3 separate regions of the Homo sapiens genome follow, and all the other regions are linked to region 2. Evidence: promoter capture Hi-C in human tissues and cell types (Jung and others, 2019). All regions are on one chromosome and are shown on one strand. The core of a region is centred on a gene start or on the middle of the fragment in contact, and the rest is flanking DNA. Distances in the headings are between cores, read along the strand shown. Region 1 overlaps EXD3 (exonuclease 3'-5' domain containing 3). Region 2 holds the start of TOR4A (torsin family 4 member A). Region 3 overlaps EXD3 (exonuclease 3'-5' domain containing 3).

Region 1 (2,700 bases), core at 31-2,530, 61 kb before region 2:
TCCTTTCCAATCCTTATATCTTTTCCTTCTTTATCTTATTTCATTAGTCAAGATCTCCAAGACAGTGTCGAATAGAAATGCTGATGGTAGCCATCCTTGTCTTGTTTCTGATTTAGAAAGGAATGTTTTAACATGAAGTAAGGTGGTTGCTCAATATTCTGTACCAGGCTGAGGCAGTTCCATGATTCCACATTTGCTGTAGGTTTTTGTTATGAATGAACATTGAATTCGACCTACCTAATGCTTTCCTGGCAGCTTTTCAGATACTCATAAGGTTATTTTTCCTTTAATCTGTAAATGTGATGAATGACATTATTAGCTCTTTGAATTTGGGACTAATTTTTCTTTCCTGGGTTAAATTCAACTTGGTCCCGCATATTACCCTTCTTAATACATTGCGGACTTTGGTCTGTGATTTTTTTTTTTTTTTTTTTTTTGAAGTGGCGTCTTGCTGTGTTACCCAGGCTGGCCTCAGACTCCTGGGCTCAAGTGATCCTCCCACCTCAGTGAGACTATGGCTGGGACTACAGGCATGTGGCACCTCACCCGGCCTGGTCTGTGATTTTTGTTAGGAAGTTTGCATCCATCTTTCTGGGTACATCTGACATATAATTTTCCTTTCTCTTTTTTTCTGGCCTCATAAATACATTGGGAAGTTTTCCCTCTTTTTTCTGCAACTGAGTAATGTTTAAATTATCTGCTCCTGAAACTGGCTCACTTCCTGTGAGGCTTCCTGGCCTGATGTTTTCTTTGGGGAGAATGTTCTGATACTGAGTTTTATTAATAGTTATAGAACCACTTGGCTGGCTGTGTCTTCTTGATCACATTTGGTAATTTATAATTTTTCTGGAATGTGTCCATTTAATCCGACATTTCAAATATGTAAGTATAGATTGTTATAGATTGTCGGTGTCCGCTCTTAAGGCTCTGCTGTGTCTGCAGCTGGGTTCCCTCTCTTTTATTGTGGCTTCCTTTTGCTCTCACTCTTCTCATGCTCTCGCAGAGATGTGTCAACTTACTGCCCTTTTTTTTTTTTTTTTTGAGATGGAGTCTCGCTCTGTTGCCCAGGCTGGAGTGCAGTGGCGCGATCTTGGCTCACTACAAGCTCCGCCTCCCGGGTTCACGCCATTCTCCTGCCTCAGCCTCCCGAGTAGCTGGGACTACAGGCGCCCGCCACCACTCCCAGCTTTTTTTTTTTTTTTTGTATTTTTAGTAGAGACGGGGTTTCACCATGTTAGCCAGGATGGTCTCGATCTCCTGACCTCGTGATCTGCCCTCCTCAGCCTCCCAAAGTGCTGGGATTACAGGCGTGAGCCACTGCGCCCGGCCAACTTACTGCCTTTTAAAATAACCAGTATTTGGCTTTGTTAAGTCTTTCTATTGCATTTTTGTTGTCTATCTCATCAATTTCTGTTCTTATCTTTATAATTTCCTTCCTTTTGCTTTCTTGGGTTTGTTTCCAAGTGGCGTTGCTTAGCTCTTTAATTTTCAGACTCTTATATTTTATGATATAAGTGTTTAAGGCCATAAATTTTTCTCAAAGTATTGTTTTCACTGCGCTATATCAGTTTTGATATACAGTGTTTTCATTGTTTTTAGTTCTAACAACGTTTGAATATCAATTATGATTGCTTATTTGACTTCGTTCTTTAGAAGGTTTTTCAATTTTAGAAAGCTTGGATCTTGGGGCTTTTTAGTTATCTTCTTAAAAATGATTTCTAACCTAACTTCAGGAAAATAGTCTGTATATTTCCAATTTTGGAAATTTCTTAAGATTTGCTTTGTAGCCAAGTAGATGGTCCTTTTTATAAATGATCCACATGGACTGTAAAAGGATACATGGTATTGGCTGGGCACAGTGGCTCACGCCTGTAATCCCAGCACTTTGGGAGGCCGAGGCGGGCAGATCACGAGGTCAGGAGATCGAGACCATCCTGGCTAACACAGTGAAACCCTGTCTGTACTAAAAATTCAAAAAATTAGCTGGGCATGGTGGTGGGCGCCTGTAGTCCCAGCTACTCGGGAGGCTGAGGCAGGAGAATGGCATGAACCCGGGAGGTGGAGCTTGCAGTGAGCCAAGATTGCGTCACTGCACTCCAGCCTGGGCAACAGAGCAAGACTCCATCTCAAAAAACAAAACAAAAAAAAGATACATGGTATTCCCTTCCAGTCATGCTCATCTCTCTCCCCCTCTCTCCCTCCCACTCCACCTACCCCCCAACATATGCACACACTCAGTAGATCCAGCTTGCCAAATGTGTCGTTCAAAACATCTTTTTTTTTGAGAAGAAATCTCGCTCTGTCGCCCAGGCTGGAGTGCAGTGGCGAAATCTCGGCTCACTGCAAGCTCCGCCTCCCGGGTTCAAGCAATTCTCCTGCCTCAGCCTCCCAAGTAGCTGGGATTACAGGTGTCCGCCACCACACCCGGCTAATTTTTGTATTTTTAGTAGAGATAGGGTTTCACCATATTGGCCAGGCTGGTCTGGAACTCCTGACCTTGTGATCCGCCCGCCTTGGCCTCCCAAACTGCTGGGATTATAGGTGTGAGCCACCGCACCCAGCCTAAATCATCTTTATCCTATTTACTTTTCTGCCTGATTCTACCAAGAGAGACATACAGAAGGTTCCTGTGATGGTACATTCATCAGATTTTCCATGCAGTTACGTCAGTGTTTGCCTTATATGTTTTAAAGTTATGTT
Region 2 (2,700 bases), core at 72-2,571:
CGCGCGGCTCCTGTGCTCCACGCGCGGCCGATACTTGCGCGAGGTCTCCGGGTAAAGCACCAGGCGGCTGCGCCGGCGCTTCTTGCGTGGCGTCCTGGAGGGTAGCTCCGCGGGGCTGTCGAAGGTGAAGAACTTTGGCTGGTCCAGGTCCGCGCGCGGTGCCCGGGGGCTGCAGCCCGGCCTGGGCGCCCCGGTCCCGACGTCGGGCCCCCCACCCGGCTGCAGGAGGCGCCGTTTGCGTAGGACACACACCCGGCGGCGCAGGCGGAGCACAGCGCGCACGGGCGCGATCACGCACCGGCCCGAGGCTCGGGGGGCCGCGGCAGCAGGCTCCAGGCTGGGCTGGCCGCGGTCCATGTCGCAGGAACGGCGCTCCGCATACAGGTCGCCCTCCCTGCAACGGGAAGACGGGGAGGGTCTCTGGACTCCCGCCACTGCCCTTTCCCGCGGGCCGCCGGAACCGGTCCCCGGAGTGATCTTACCCCCTGGGAGTCCCGTGGGGTGCGGCCCGGGCTGCCCCAGGGCCAGGGGCCTGGTCGCGGCCTCGCCCCTCAGACCGGCAAGCGACCCCTCCGCCCCTCCGCCCCTCCGCCCCTCCGCAGGGCCCCGATGCAAATCTCTCGGGTCTTCCCATAAACGGCCGCGGGCCTTGAGGAAGTGGCGGGGTAGAGGCTTATCTGGTGGCCGCCCCGGCTTCCTGGAGGAGTCGTCGAAGGAGTCAGTGGCCGCCCAGGCGCCCACTGGGGTGAACAGTCACCCCCGGACCCTGCCCCCGCCCGCGGCTCCCACTGGACTGGGCCGTCTCCCAAGGAGGGGCCGCGGGAAGCAGAGGCCTGAGCGCCCAGGAGTTCAGAGACGCCCCCACACGCTCCAGAACACTTGGCGGGGGTCTGGCTGGAACTTATGATTTTGAGAATAGGCCCGGGCCCCGTCCCCAGGCTCAACCCAGGCCTCCCAGCCCCGACTCCAAAACTGGGGTCCTCCCAACACCCCTCCAGTGAACGAGCTGAGCAGTGCAGGGAGCCCCCCGGAGACTAGTGGAGGTGAAACGAAAAGATGGACAGAAAGAAGAGGCCGGTCGGAGCAAGAGAGCCACTGACTGGCAGGAACTGGGCCCTGGGCCCCAACCCACCCCCTACCTGCAGCTGGTCCACTGCCCTCAGCTCCGCAGGCCCCTGCCTGTGCCAGACGCTGGGGCCTGAGACTCCAAGCAGGAAATGCGCCTCCCAGGGCGAGGGGGTGGGCCAGGGGCCTCCTGGGCCAGCTTCGGCCTGGAGGGGCAGCGACACCTGTGGGTCCCCAGGGAGCGGCCGGCCGGAGTAGAGGAAGCTCTGGGGAGGTTTCCGCTTCTATGCAAAGGAAGTGAGTCAGGGGGTGCGGCCCAGGCGGGACTTGGGCTGGACGGAGGCGCCAAAGGGGGGAGGCCTGGCCGGCTTGCCCAGATCCCCTGGCCGGAGGTCACATTCCCGCTTCAGTTCTCTAGCGCTCAGAGCCCTCCTGGCTTGGTCAGGCTCAGGACACCTGGTGAGGCCGAGGGCCCCTGCTGCATGCTGTGCCCCCACCCTGGGCTCCTGCACCTCAGCCTGTCCTCCAGGGCCCCCACCTCCCCCAGGTTATCCCTTCCACCTGTCACCCCACACACAGGGCTTACAGCTGGGGGGAGGGGCTCCAGGCCCTGTGTAAGCAAGGCGGGAGCAAGGCAGCAGCACAGGGGGCGGGCAGGGTCCTCTGCCGAGCTGCATACCCCCAATCCCTCTCTTATTACTCCTCTCCCCGCTTTTTCATTCCCCTCCTGACCCCAATCGGGGGCCCCCCAAAGTGGGCTCATTGTCTTTCCTTTCCCCCTTCCTCCGTCCCCAGCCTGGAGCCCCCTGCCCAGGACAGGCCAGCACACACAGACGGAAGTTCTATCACGGAAAAAACCACGTGCGGCTCAGGGTCCCTGTGGGGGTTGGGGAACAAATTTAGAAACAACTTGGGCCGGGAGCCAGGAGCTGGAGCTCTGGGCCCTTCCCCCTGCCGGCCTGCCTAAAGGACCCTGGACTCCTCCTACCCTGGCCCAGCCTGGAAGCCGCCTTCCAAGGAGGGGCAAGGTGGCCGCTCCAGCCACACCAGTGCTGCTGGCATTCAGCTCAGGACCCCGCAGTCCCAGGGACGCCCCACTCCTCCCAACAGCCAGCCCGGGCCTGATGGTTCCAGCTGTATATTCCTCACACACTGCACCCAACCAGACAGGCTCCATCAGGGAAACCGGTCGTGGGTTGGGGGTTTCCATTCTCTCCAGGGTATGGGGTCCACCGGACTATCACGCTCCCCTCCAGGAGCCAGGCCTAGGGCTCCCCTCCCCTGTGCAAGGGGTGCTCGGGGGCCCGGATCCCCAATTGTCGAGGCCGCGGGGGCCGCACACACCAGGTGGAATGCTGGTGCTCTTTGGGCCCACTCCCCGGCCTCTGTGGGACCAGAGCGGAAGGAGGTTGGCTGTCCAGGCCCCGTGGCCCCAGCACGGAGGTTGGGGTCCTTTGGGGGCCTCAGGCTTTGAGTCTCGGTGCTTCTTCTGACACAGAGAGGACCCTGGAGGGGAGGCCCTCGGGCAGATGCAGGCTGACCGAGCCCTGGAAAACCTGCAGCAAAGCCTCTGCCCTGCCTCCAAGTGCACCCAGGGCTGGAGCTGCTTCTGCCAGAGGCTGGCCCAGCAAATCC
Region 3 (2,700 bases), core at 17-2,516, 44 kb before region 2:
GATCACCCCTCGTGGGTCCGGGGTGGGGTGTCGGCAGATCACCCCTCGTGGGTCCGGGGTGGGGTGTCGGCAGAGCATCCCTCGTGGGTCCGGGGTGGGGTGTCGGCAGAGCATCCCTCGTGGGTCCGGGGTGGGGTGTCGGCAGAGCATCCCTCGTGGGTCCGGGGTGGGGTGTCGGCAGAGCATCCCTCGTGGGTCCGGGGTGGGGTGTCGGCAGAGCATCCCTCGTGGGTCCGGGGTGGGGTGTCGGCAGAGAATCCCTCGGGGGTCCGCGGTGGGGTGTCGGCAGAGCATCCCTCGTGGGTCTGGGGTGGGGTGTCGGCAGAGAATCTCTTGGGGGTCCGGGGTGGGGTGTCGGCAGAAAATCCCTCGGGGGTCCGGGGTGAGGTGTCGGCAGAGCATCCCTCGTGGTCCGGGGTGAGGTGTCGGCAGAGCATCCCTCGTGGTCCGGGGTGAGGTGTCGGCAGAGCATCCCTCGTGGTCCGGGTTGAGGTGTCGGCAGAGCATCCCTCGTGGTCCGGGGTGAGGTGTCGGCAGAGCATCCCTCGTGGTCCGGGGTGAGGTGTCGGCAGAGCATCCCTCGTGGGTCCGGGGTGAGGTGTCGGCAGAGCATCCCTCGTGGGTCTGGGGTGAGATGTTGGCAGAGAATCCCTTGTGGGTCCGGGGTGAGGTGTCGGCAGAGAATCCCTGGTCCAGGGTGAGGCGTCGGCAGAGCATCCCTAGTGCAGGCTGGCATGGCCACGGGGACAGCTCCAATCAGGCATTGGCTTGGATTTGGGGAATTCCCTCTGGCTCCCATGGGGCTTCTAGAAGGAATCGAGGGAAATTGTGGAAGTCCCTTCAGGCTGGGTGGGTCCCACTTTCCAAAGGCAACACGCAGGACAGCCTGCGTCTGCTTGGTGACGTCTAACAAGGTCTGGGCAACAGAAGCCCTGAGTGGGAACTGCCGCACCTCGGTGGAGATCCATAGAGGAGGCTGGTGGGGGCACCAAAGCCCAACTCACCTCTCTCCCTCCTCTCCTGTCCCCAGTGGGGGACTGGGCTGAGGCACCTGCCCAGGGCTGCACTGTCCAAGCTTGCTATGCCCCACACCAACTGGCACCTGGGCATGGCCAGTCTGGGGGGAGTTGATGCTGCCTTTTGCGCCTCCACTCAAGGCGCCAGGGTCTCCGTGGGCGACACGGGAGCAAGGGGGACTGTGGGCTGTGCTGGCTCTCGGCAGTTCCCGGTGGAGGGTACGGGCTGCTTCCAGAACGTTCCGCAGTTAGGGCCACATCAATATTCCGCCTGGAGCAGCAGGTCGGGGCTGCTCCAACAAGCCCAGTTTTGTTTCCTGGGGTTTTTTGGGGGTGGGACGGAGTCTCACTCCATCGCCCAGGCTGGAGTGTAGTGATGTAATCTCAGCTCACTGCAGCCTCCGCCTCCCAGGTTCAAGCAATTCTCCCACCTCAGGCTCCTGAGTAGCTGGGATTACAGGTGCCCACCACCACGGGCGGCTAATTTTTGTATTTTTAGTAGAGACAGGGTTTCACCATGTTGGTCAGGCTGGTCTTGAACTCCTGACCTCAGGTGATCTTCCTGCCTCAGCCTCCCAAAGTGCTGGGATGACAGGCGTGAGTAATCCCAGCCTCCCAAGCCCAATTCTGGGGGAAGTTTTGGGACCCCCTCATGGAGGGAGATCCCCTCATGGAGGCCACTGTCAGGGTCCCTGCTGGTGCCTGGGCTGGGCAGGGAGGGGCCCTGAGCTCAGCTCCACCCCATGGTCCTCAAGGGCACCCACCTGGCTGAGCAGAAACAGATGCAGGCCTGCGCCTTCTGCTACCGCCCTTCTGCCCCCACAGCCTCAGGCTGGGCCTGGCGGGGATTGAAGCAGGAAGGAAAGAGGGAAAGCTCCGGCTCGGCTCGGATCTGCAGCCGGCCAGGCACCTGTACACACAGGCCCCTGGACCTCCCACTGCCCCTGGCCTGGGGGTGCAGTCTGACCCTCTGACCCCACTGCCCTGCGGGGACCGCGGCCTCTGCCTCAGGTGGCAAGGAAGTGTGCTCCAGGGGCCTCTCCTGCAGCCTTGGGCTCCAGGGGCGGCAGGAACCGCGTCCGCTGCCTCTCTTTGTCTGTGCTCAGGCCAGCAAGCGCTGTAAAGACCCCAGGATGTCCGGGACGCCTGGGGAGGCATGTTAATGAGCTGTTCAGAATCGGCTGCTGCATTTTCTTGAGAAAACAGGAAGTTGGGTAGCTGGGAGGAAACCCCTGCTGGAGCCCTGGCCAGCCGGGTGCTGGGGAGTGCCCCTGAGGACCCAGGCCAGGCATGGAGGGGCCGCCAAGCCCTGCATGGAGAAGGGTGTCCAGGGTGTGAGGCAGAAGGGCAGACTTTGGCCTGGCTGAGTGGATGGGATGGGGGCGTCGGGGGCTGAGCAGTGGGGGCCGCCCTGACCCATGTCCGCCCTGCCTCTTTGCTGGCTACTGGCAGCTCCAAGCTGCTGATGCCACTCTGCCACCCACACCCTGCAACCCCCAAGCTGCCCCTGCTGTGGCAAGCAGGAGCGCCAGGCCCAGGGGGGCTGCAGGTAGAGCAGGCCTGGGAGGGGCTAAGGCCAGAGCTGCACCCCCGTGGGGGGCCAGCAACTGTCCAGGCTGGAGAGGGCAGCGCCAGCTGTCCAGGACCAAGGCAGTGAGGGAAGGAGCATCTGGATCTGAAAGAC

Evidence for each region. Contacts are between HindIII fragments. The study calls those that stand out against the background at their distance.
Region 1: a fragment that was not itself captured here is called in contact with the fragment with the promoter of TOR4A in region 2 in 1 of the 25 tissues and cell types used here (dorsolateral prefrontal cortex).
Region 3: a fragment that was not itself captured here is called in contact with the fragment with the promoter of TOR4A in region 2 in 1 of the 25 tissues and cell types used here (pancreas).

The regions. Positions count from the first base shown.
Region 1 is chr9:137,337,234-137,339,933 of GRCh38, reverse strand. The region is part of intron 17 of EXD3 (exonuclease 3'-5' domain containing 3); the gene reads left to right. Among named protein-coding and RNA genes, the nearest start is that of NRARP, 36 kb to the right of the region's middle. The HindIII fragment of the contact is 4,297 bases long and covers 1-2,700 here.
Region 2 is chr9:137,276,347-137,279,046 of GRCh38, reverse strand. TOR4A (torsin family 4 member A) reads right to left here and starts at 1,321. Exons shown (of 2, transcript NM_017723.3): 1 at 1,140-1,321; 2 at 1-394. The coding sequence starts at 357. RefSeq lists silencers at 761-820, 1,101-1,420. The HindIII fragment of the contact is 16,896 bases long and covers 1-2,700 here.
Region 3 is chr9:137,320,334-137,323,033 of GRCh38, reverse strand. The region is part of intron 19 of EXD3 (exonuclease 3'-5' domain containing 3); the gene reads left to right. Among named protein-coding and RNA genes, the nearest start is that of NRARP, 19 kb to the right of the region's middle. RefSeq lists enhancers at 1,445-2,078, 2,079-2,700. The HindIII fragment of the contact is 3,018 bases long and covers 1-2,700 here.